Regions from separate parts of the Homo sapiens genome. Here all the other regions are linked to region 1. Evidence: promoter capture Hi-C in 16 types of primary human blood cells and fetal thymus (Javierre and others, 2016). All regions are on one chromosome and are shown on one strand. The core of a region is centred on a gene start or on the middle of the fragment in contact, and the rest is flanking DNA. Distances in the headings are between cores, read along the strand shown. Region 1 overlaps BSCL2 (BSCL2 lipid droplet biogenesis associated, seipin). Region 2 holds the start of NXF1 (nuclear RNA export factor 1). Region 3 holds the start of EML3 (EMAP like 3).

Evidence for each region. Contacts are between HindIII fragments. The CHiCAGO score rates a contact against its expected background, and 5 or more counts as called.
Region 2: a contact is called between the fragment with the promoter of NXF1 here and a fragment that was not itself captured in region 1, in 1 of 17 cell types (naive B cells). The highest score is 5.9, in naive B cells.
Region 3: the fragment with the promoter of EML3 here is called in contact with a fragment that was not itself captured in region 1 in 7 of 17 cell types (naive B cells, naive CD4 T cells, total CD8 T cells and 4 more); the score reaches 7.5 in naive B cells.

Annotation. Positions count from the first base shown.
Region 1 is chr11:62,692,856-62,695,818 of GRCh38, reverse strand. It overlaps BSCL2 (BSCL2 lipid droplet biogenesis associated, seipin), which reads left to right. Exons shown (of 11, transcript NM_001122955.4): 4 at 1,108-1,251. HNRNPUL2-BSCL2 (HNRNPUL2-BSCL2 readthrough (NMD candidate)) reads left to right here. Exons shown (of 24, transcript NR_037946.1): 17 at 1,108-1,251. Among named protein-coding and RNA genes, the nearest start is that of LRRN4CL, 4.8 kb to the right of the region's middle. The HindIII fragment of the contact is 2,247 bases long and covers 443-2,689 here.
Region 2 is chr11:62,803,906-62,806,868 of GRCh38, reverse strand. It overlaps NXF1 (nuclear RNA export factor 1), which reads left to right and starts at 1,429. Exons shown (of 21, transcript NM_006362.5): 1 at 1,429-1,540; 2 at 2,891-2,963. The coding sequence starts at 1,513. STX5 (syntaxin 5) reads left to right here. Exons shown (of 11, transcript NM_003164.5): 11 at 1-9. RefSeq lists enhancers at 911-960, 981-1,170, 1,137-1,636. The HindIII fragment of the contact is 11,555 bases long and covers 1-2,963 here.
Region 3 is chr11:62,611,356-62,614,318 of GRCh38, reverse strand. It overlaps EML3 (EMAP like 3), which reads left to right and starts at 1,544. Exons shown (of 22, transcript NM_153265.3): 1 at 1,544-1,883; 2 at 2,723-2,894. The coding sequence starts at 1,862. It overlaps ROM1 (retinal outer segment membrane protein 1), which reads right to left and starts at 1,062. Exons shown (of 3, transcript NM_000327.4): 1 at 448-1,062; 2 at 1-61. The coding sequence starts at 1,037. RefSeq lists enhancers at 1,068-1,127, 1,901-2,460, 2,461-2,963 and a silencer at 1,178-2,057. The HindIII fragment of the contact is 22,044 bases long and covers 1-2,963 here.

The DNA of each region.
Region 1 (2,963 bases), core at 317-2,816:
TGATAAACACTGAAAGCACCCCCAAGGCTGAACCCATGTTTTGGAGGTAGTTCACTATGGGCTAGGGAAGTATTTTCCAAATTTTTTTTTTTTTTTTTTTTTTTTTTGAGACAGAGTTTTGCTCTTGTCGCCCAGGCTGCAGTGCAATGGCGCGCTCTCGGCTCACTGCAATCTCCGCCTCCAGGGTTCAAGCGATTCTCCTGCCTCAGCCTCCTGAGTGGCTGAGATTACAGGCGCCTGCCACCACGTCCATCTAATTTTTGTATTTTTAATAGAGACGGGGGGTTTCACCATGTTGGCCAGGCTGGTCTCGAACTCCTGACCTCAGGTGATCCACCTGCCTTGGCCTCCCAAAGTGCTGGGATTACAGGCATGACTCACTGCACCTGGCTAACCTTTTTTTTTTTTTTTAACCCATTACCTCTAATTAAAAACAGAAGCTTTACCCTCACTCCTGTAATTTTTATATACTACTGTGTGAGGGCCTTGTTGCCAGATATGAATCAATAAAGGGGCTAGAAGAATATAGAAATAGGAAAAACTAGGGCATGTTTGGTGGCAAATCTTTAACCTCTTGAGGGTGATCCCTGTGAAGAAGCCTTCCTACTCTGAGTCTTGGGGCGCTACCAACAGAACCAAGATAAGGGAGCTAGAATGGCAGAAAGATGATCTGGAGCGAGGATGACTGTGCCAGAGCTGGCTGGGGAGACTGAGCACTGTCAGTGCTTGATTAATAATGTAAGAGAGGACAGGCTGGGCCCTGGGGACAGCCTCACCGGCCCATAGGCCAGAGTCACAGATGGCCCAGTTGGCAACATGATGGTTCACTTTTGGAAAAGAAACGTGACACAGCCTTTCTGGGAACAGGGTAGCCAGTCTGATTCAGGAGAGCCAACAGGATACCCAAGAACTGGACGTGAGAGGCTCTAGCCACCAGAAGGGGGCAGCACCTTCTTGGGATGACAGATTGAAAGGCCCGTTAGGCTACCCAAGAGGGTTGTGGCTGAGTATTTGGGGGCGTTGCGGGGGCTAAGAGGGAGGTGGAATAGAGACAGTACATTTTCAACAAAAAAATTTTTTTAAAGAAATGGGGGCTACCTTTGGCAGGTGCTGATGTATGGACAGCCGTATCGTGTTACCTTAGAGCTTGAGCTGCCAGAGTCCCCTGTGAATCAAGATTTGGGCATGTTCTTGGTCACCATTTCCTGCTACACCAGAGGTGGCCGAATCATCTCCACTTCTTCGCGTTCGGTAAGTGTTGGTGGCCTGTCTGAGAAGGTGTGGAGGAAGATGGCAGGATCAGAATGGGTAGGGGGCTGGGTGTGGTGGCTCAGGCCTATAATCCCAGCAGTTTGGGAGGCCGAGGCAGGCAGATCGCTTGAGCCCAGGAGTTCAAGACTGGCCTGGGCAACATGGCGAAACCCATCTCTACAAAAAAAGTTTAAAAATTAGCTGGGCATGGTGGCTCACGGCTGTAGTCCCAGCTACTCTAGAGGCTGAGGTGGGAGGATCGCTTAAACCTGGGAGGTTGAGTCTGCAGTGAGCCAAGATTGCACCACTATTCTCCCTCCTGGGCAACAGAGCAAGACCGTCTCAAAAAAAAAAAAAAAAAAAAAAAAAAAAGAATGTCTGGGTAGGGATTCCTCAGGAGAAAACACCCTTGGCTTTGAGGTCACAGACACATCAGGATAAAGAAGGGAATCAAGGCCGGGCGCAGTGGCTCATGCCTGTAATCCCAACACTCTGGGAGGCCGAGGCGGGTAGATCACCTGAGGTCCAGAGTTCGAGACCAGCCTGACCAACATGGAGAAATCCCGTCTCTACTAAAAATACAAAATTAGCTGGGCATGGTGGTGCATGCTTGTAATCCCAGCTACTCAGGAAGCTGAGGCAGGAGAATTGCTTGAACCCGGGAGGCAGAGGTTGTGGTGAGCCAAGATCGCGCCACTGCATTCCAGCCTGGGCAACAAGAGCAAAACTTTGTCTTAAAAAAAAAAAGAGAAAGGAATCAGCTTACAAAACCAGAAACCTTTGCCAAACACCCCAGGTATCTCAGGAGCATGCCCAGCTTTGGGATTAAGTGTGAAGAGTGGAGCTGCTCTCAGAAAACAGGCTTTAGAGCCAGACAGACATGGGCTTGTGTCCTCATTCAGAAACAAGCTAGCTGTGGGTCACCTGACTTAACTTCTTGGGTATAAAGTATTATAAAATGGGTATAATAGTAACTGCCTCATAGCAAGACTAGTTTGGATTCAATGGGGAAATGTAAAATTCCCATTAGCACATAGTGGCTGTTTAATGTTTTTTTGTTTTTGAGACAGAGATCTTGCTCTGTCGCCCAGGCTGGAGTGCAGTGGCGTGATCTCGGCTCACGGCAACCTTCACCTCCTGGGTTCAAGCGATTCTCCTGCCTCAGCCTCTCAAGTAGCTGGGACTACAGGTGCTCACCACTACACCTGGCTAATTTTTGTATTTTTAGTGGAGGTGGGGTTTCACCATGTTGACCAGGCTGGTCTCGAACTCCTGATCTCAAATGATTCAACCACCTCAGCCTCCCAAAGTGCTGCAAGTACAGGTGTGAGCCACCGCACCTGGCCTAATAAATGTTAAGACTCCATTCTTCCATTAATTAACAACACAACCTCATCATGAAGCAAATTCCTGATGTCTACATGATGGGGGGAAAGCTTCAGATGGTGCGCTGGGACTTAGATCCCATACTGGATTACAGAACTACTTGGTGGGAAAGGCAGATCAGAGACAGTGCTGGGCTTAATCTAGGAAGGTTTCTTGGAAGGAGGGGCCTTTGCTCTATAATAGAGTGTGGTTGAGTAGGGAGAGAGGTACTCAAGCAATTGGAATGGTTGGATGAGACTGAGGGGTAGGAAGTGAAGGTGAGGCAGCCAGGGACCTGAGGAAGAAGCCGCCTTCATAGACTACTCAGGGGTGGTTGAGGGGTAGGT
Region 2 (2,963 bases), core at 180-2,679, 110 kb before region 1:
GCGTCGAAGGGCCTAGGCAGCGAGTGGAGAGAGCCCACTGCCCAGTACCAGAACTGAAAGGGTTGGGCTAATGGCTCTGCCAGGTATCACTGCTGACACAGGCTATTTTGGGCTCTGACACACAGCTGCCTCTAGGCAGGGGAGAACCAAGTGTTGCAACACTTCATTAGCGTGGAAACTTCCTTTCACACAGGGGAGCAGGATCCCAGAGGGGGTCCCTGATTGGGGGCAACTTCCAGGACTATCTCAAGCAGTGTTTGGACCTGTTTCATCTGTATCCTCCAACTATTTGGCCGTAATTCTTCCTTGAGCTAAGCGAGGCAGAAGCTCTGCCTGCTTCCAGGAGTGGAAGGTGAAGAATTTGTTCCCAACTCCAGTTGAGGCTTTTGATTCCCTCCAAGCACTTCACCAAATCAAAGCCAGTCACAGAGAATGGAGACACCTGCCCAGAATACCCACCGTCCAGGGAGATTAGTGTGCTTTGTTCTTCCTGACCGAGACTCACAACCACATTCTGAGGTCACTCGAGTGCCCCTGTCTCATACATTCCAAAGGAAGTTGAAGCTATAGAGACAACAGTCAGGGGCTGGTGGTGGTGCTTTTGGGGGTCTAGGAGAGCCCAAGGCCCTGATATTTTAAAATGTCCTCCTCGGCATCTCCAGCAAGTTGCCACTGCTGGTGAGCTTCACTGTCTGCCCCGTTGACACGATGGGTTTCTAGTAGGGGACGCCATTGATGGAAGGTCTGTGAAGACAATGCTCGCCAAACCCCTGACAGATGTCGTATCATTTGACTCAGCAACTCAGGGCGGGGCGGGGTGGGGGAAATTCATAACACAAATTCATTTATTTCACAAATATATGTTGAGTTTTTACCATGTGCCAGGCATAGTACCTGCCGAGTCAAGCCCTCGAGGAAAAAAAGCCCTTAATTAGTCAACGTTCGAGCTCACATTCTAATTCTCAACTTCGTGATTTGTTAATCCATCTTATAGGCGAAGAAAGCGAGGTATAGACAAGGAGCCGAGCTGAAACACTGGCTAGATTCCGGTAGGGGTCTGAGCCATCACTCCCACCTGGAGGCGCGGTCTCCATTCCTCTGAAGCCCTTTGTGCGGCCCCCTTCCTCACTGAGTTCTGGGCTGCGGCGGCAGCACTGTGCTCTAGCACTAACTCTGAAGCTGCCAGGGCAGCGTCAGCGGACAGATGAAAAGGTGCGGGGACATGCTGGCTGCCAGCCGGGGTTCCGCAAGTTCAGGTCTTGGGCGGGGCGTGGAGGGCCAGGCCCCGCCCCTCGAACGACGGCCTTAAGTGTGCGCACGCGCAGGGGGCCGCGCTTTCTCCGGGCGGCGGCACCGCCCACAGCCTGGGACGTCAGCGGCGCGCGACGTGCTTTGCTGTATAAATGCGGTGGCGCCCGGCGTAGGGACACTTCGGTCCTGAGCGCTTGGGAGTTAGGTTGTTTGCCGGCGTAGCGGCCAGCGCCTGAGCCCGCCCTTGATCTTCGCTGTGGCATGGCGGACGAGGGGAAGTCGTACAGCGGTAAGTGCTGGTCTTCGGGTCGGGAACTGGCTATCTGGGGCGCGGGTGGGCGGCGCCGGCCTAGGCCTCAGCCCCCGGGGCGTGAGGCCGCTAGGGGCCCGGCGTCCGCGGGGAGCGGCGCGCGGGGGGCCGGGCACTCGAGGTGGACACCCGAGTTGTTGACTCCTGGATTCCTGCTGGCATCCTGGTGTTGGGGGACCTGCGGCTCGGAGCGGATGGCTCGGGGGTAGGGTGACGGGATTCCTTTGAACTTTGTGGGTGGTTGATGCCTGTCAGTTAGGTTTGGCGGCCTGACTCTTCCTTTAATGTGAGTGAGTGCCCTGCTCGTGGGCTGCCCTGATGCCCTATTTTTTACTGCGTCCAGTCGGTCTTGAACTCTCGGGCCTGGGCTTTGGCTTAATATTCGAGACTTACACATCAACTGGATATTCTAGTCTGAACACTACACTGGGTGTTAGTTCTTTGTAGTAAGTTAGGAGTGCGTGGTGGAGGTTGAAACCGTGAATTTAAAACTCTCGTTTTCCACCCCCTTAATGTGGAATAACAACAGCATTTCTTAAGAGTGTGTGTGGGGAGGGGAAATGAGATCATTCCTATCAAGTGCCTGAAGCATAGTGGCCGGCACTGGAGAAAGTTCTCAGTGAATGTTAGCTGCGCCTTCTATGTTCTTTTTTCCTAGGGTCATTTGTTGAGATTCATTGTTTACAGAGTGCTGGGTATTAGGCAGACCTCTTTTGGGAGTTAGGGACCTTTTTTAAGACGCCAGTCCTACACAGCATGAATCAGAAGGTCATCTTCCTGGAGAGCATTCCAGGGTCCCTGGTTAAGCACCCTAGCCTGGCACTGCCACTAGAGCCTGAGTCTAGAATTTGTCTCCTGAGTTAAAGGACATTTCTGGCCATGGAAACGAAGAGCTCCTCACAAAACTTCAAAGTGGCAGTTTGAGAACAAGGAGAATTTTTAGAGGATCCTTAAACTGGTCATATTTGTAACTGGCGTCTGCACTGTATAGACAAAGTACTGAGTGGCAGATTTCAGGTGGCTTTCAGAGGTCTGATTTGTGTTCAGTTACACTTTTGGGTCTCACATTTCTACATCCTGCTTCTCTCTAATTCCAGTTTCTACTTCATTTTTCAAAAGCCCTACACAGTTTTCCAGTAACTTTTCCCTGATGCTGCCCTCCCACAGAGAGGGTTCTTTCCTGTGGATAGGGAGCGGAGTTTGCATGGAGATGGCCTCTGTCGTTAGTATGTATCTCTTCCAATAGTTCAGAGTACTAGAAGCTATGATTGCCACACCAAACCGGACCAGTTACTTACTTCTAATTTGTGTTCCTGTTTCTAACTCTAGAACACGATGATGAACGCGTTAATTTCCCTCAAAGAAAGAAGAAAGGCCGGGGTCCCTTCCGGTGGAAATATGG
Region 3 (2,963 bases), core at 295-2,794, 81 kb after region 1:
GCAACAGGAGAAAGGGACCCCATCAGTCAGGTATAGGCCTTCTACATTGCTCTGGATCCGGCTGCAAAGGGAGGGACAGAGGGGTTAGGATGTCTGGAGATAGAGGCCTGGGGGAGGGACTGAAGGGCACAGGTGTTCAGAAGGGAAAAAGAATAGTAAAACATTTACTGACTGCTGTACTATGTGCCAGCCAAGCATAATTCACATCTTCACAACAACTCTATCAGATAAGTACTATTATTTCCATTTTACAGGTGAAGGAATGGGCCCAGGGTGGTTTGGTAACATGCCCTGGGTTTCACAGCTAATAAATGGCAGAGCTGTAACCAGTCTCTCAGCCACTATGTTCTACTTATTGCCCCTCTGAGCGAGGTGGGGATTCAAGGCAGCAGGAGGGAGCCTGTCCAGGGAGGAGGAGGAGGAGGAAGGGAGACGCAAATCACTCACTCAGCCACATCCCGGTCACCGGGATCCAGGTAACGGCTGCTGACCCACTGGACCCCAAACCAATCCTTGTACCCGTGGCGCCCGCAGCAGTGGTACCTCAGTTGCAGCTCATCCACCAGCCTTTTGGCCTGACAGTGCCCAGGCACCTCTGTGTCCTTGTAGTGAGCCAAGGCAGTCACCAGGCCCTCCTCCAGCGCCTCATCCAGACTCCCAGGCAAAGCCAGGGCTAGCCCGAGGCCGACGACCAGGAGCCCCCCCCCACCAGCCGTGCCAGCCACCAGCAGCGGGCCCAGGACCCCTCGCCAGGGAGGGTATAGAGCTGCATTCAGACTTGCCCGGCTGGCTCCTACACCCACTAGTCCTGTGCCCAGAGCCACCGCGCCCGCTGCCAGGGCAGCCTGGGGCAGGACAGGGAACTGACAGGAGGGAGCCAGGAAGGTGCCAAGGTGCCTTAGCTGGACCAGGAGGTGCCCACTACAGAGGAGGATGACGCCACCAGCCAGCGCCAGCAGCCAGGAGAGGAGCCAGAGCCCTTGTGCCAGGCGGATGCGGGGCTGCAGGGGCAGCACCAGGGGCAACACCGGCGCCATCTCCCATCTCTGCCCAAGGGAATGCAGAGGTGTCAGGGATGGAAGCTGGCTGGGGCAGGATGCTGAGTCAGCCCGGCCCGGCTTGAGCTGGGCTAATGCCACCCTGACCCCAATACCCTGAGCATCCTCCCATCCTCAGCCCTAATAACCCGCCCCCCTGTCAGCCCCAATACAAGATGCCTTGGCCTTGCCCCTTACGAGAAACTCCGCCCCTAGGCCGAGGGCCCGTTTTGTGACCCCGCCCCTGCCCCTCGCGGAAGTGGTGGGGTTGGTCCGCTCAACCCTGAGGGGTTAGGGGCTGGGGGGCGGAGATATCGGGGCGGGCGCTCCCTTCCCCGTCCCCTGGGAATCCGGGGGCGGGGATCCGGGAAGGGCCTGGAGCCGGAGGCCGGGAGTAGGCCAGGGGGTCAGCCGGCTAGCCCCGCCCCCGTACTGAGCGGCGAGGCCCGGACAGGGAGGGGTTACCAAGCGGCCCGGCCCCCCCTCGGGCCCGCCCCCCCTCCCGCGCTTCCTGGCGGCTCCGCGTCCGGCGCCTGTTTGTGCTGCGGCGCTGTGGCACCGGACGGCCCTGCCACCCCACCCCCGGGAGCCGAGAGCGGCCCCGGGAGAGTCCGAGGGCCCGGGGGGGTCTGGAGACTGCGGCCCCGGGCCCACAGCGCCCCCTCCAGGCCCCTTCCCCGCGCCCGACAGCGCCCCCTCGGGGTGGTGGTACGGCGCCCTTCGCGCGCGCCCCGGGGTGCTTCCCCTTCCCCTCTCCCCGGCCGTGGCCCCCGCGGCTTAGACGCCTCCTCCGCCGCCGCCGCTCGGAGCAACCCGGGGGCCGGATGGACGGGGCCGCGGGGCCCGGTGAGTACGGGGCGGGGCGGGCGGCGTGCCCCTTCCCGGAGCGCCCGGCTCGTCGGGTTATGCCAGAGCTGGACGGCTGTCTGGAGGCGTCCCCGCGTGCTCCTCCGCCCCAGGGGCTCCGAGCATCCTCCACAGTTCCTCCGGTCGCCCTCCCTAGTTGCTTGGGTCTTGCTGTCACTTCGGGCTTCCCCAGCGTCATTCTACGCCCCACGTAACTCCGGGCCCCTCGATGTTTCCCTGCCCCCTGCGTTACTCCGGGCCTCTTCTCGTGGTATTTCAGGTCTTTTTCCTTCTGATCCCCACTGCCCCCTGAGACCTTCACTGTGACTCTGCTCACCACTCACACTCTCTCCTGTCACTCTGGATCTCTTTTCTTGTACTCTGGGTCCTCAGTATGACTCCATTCCCGCACCCCGTTCTCTCTCCTGGTGTTCCCCCGGCTCAGTTACTCAGCTTTCGCTGGAGACCTGAGCTTGCTGGGGGCGCGTGGGGAGGGCTGCGGTCCCTGCCCTCACCAGTGCGGCGCCTCTCTCTGTGGCTCCCACGTTCCTCGGCAGTACTCCATATTTCCCCCCCGGTACTCCATGGTACTCCCAGTCTTTGCGGAGGCTGAGACGGCAGCAGGAAGGGAGCTTTGCCAGGTTTCTCGCCTGCCCTGCCAGAAGGAGGCCCTTGATCCTTTACCACCGTCTCCTCCCCTCTGGACGAGCATTCAAGCCTGGGGCTGCCTGAAAGGGGCAGTCCTACCGGACACATGTAAAGTTGTGGGGAGACAGAATCCCCTCTACGCTTTCTTCAGGTGATGGGTACATTCTGAGTACCTCTTGCCCTTTTCCCAGGTGACGGCCCTGCTCGGGAGGCCCTCCAGTCTCTGAGCCAGCGGCTTCGGGTGCAGGAGCAGGAGATGGAACTGGTAAAGGCAGCCCTGGCAGAAGCCCTTCGCCTGCTGCGGCTGCAGGTGCCCCCTTCCTCCCTGCAGGGCTCTGGCACACCAGCTCCTCCGGGGGACAGGTATGCATGTCATCACACCCCATTTTTCCTCCTCCTTGGGGCCTCTGGGGCTTCAGGTTAATTCAACAT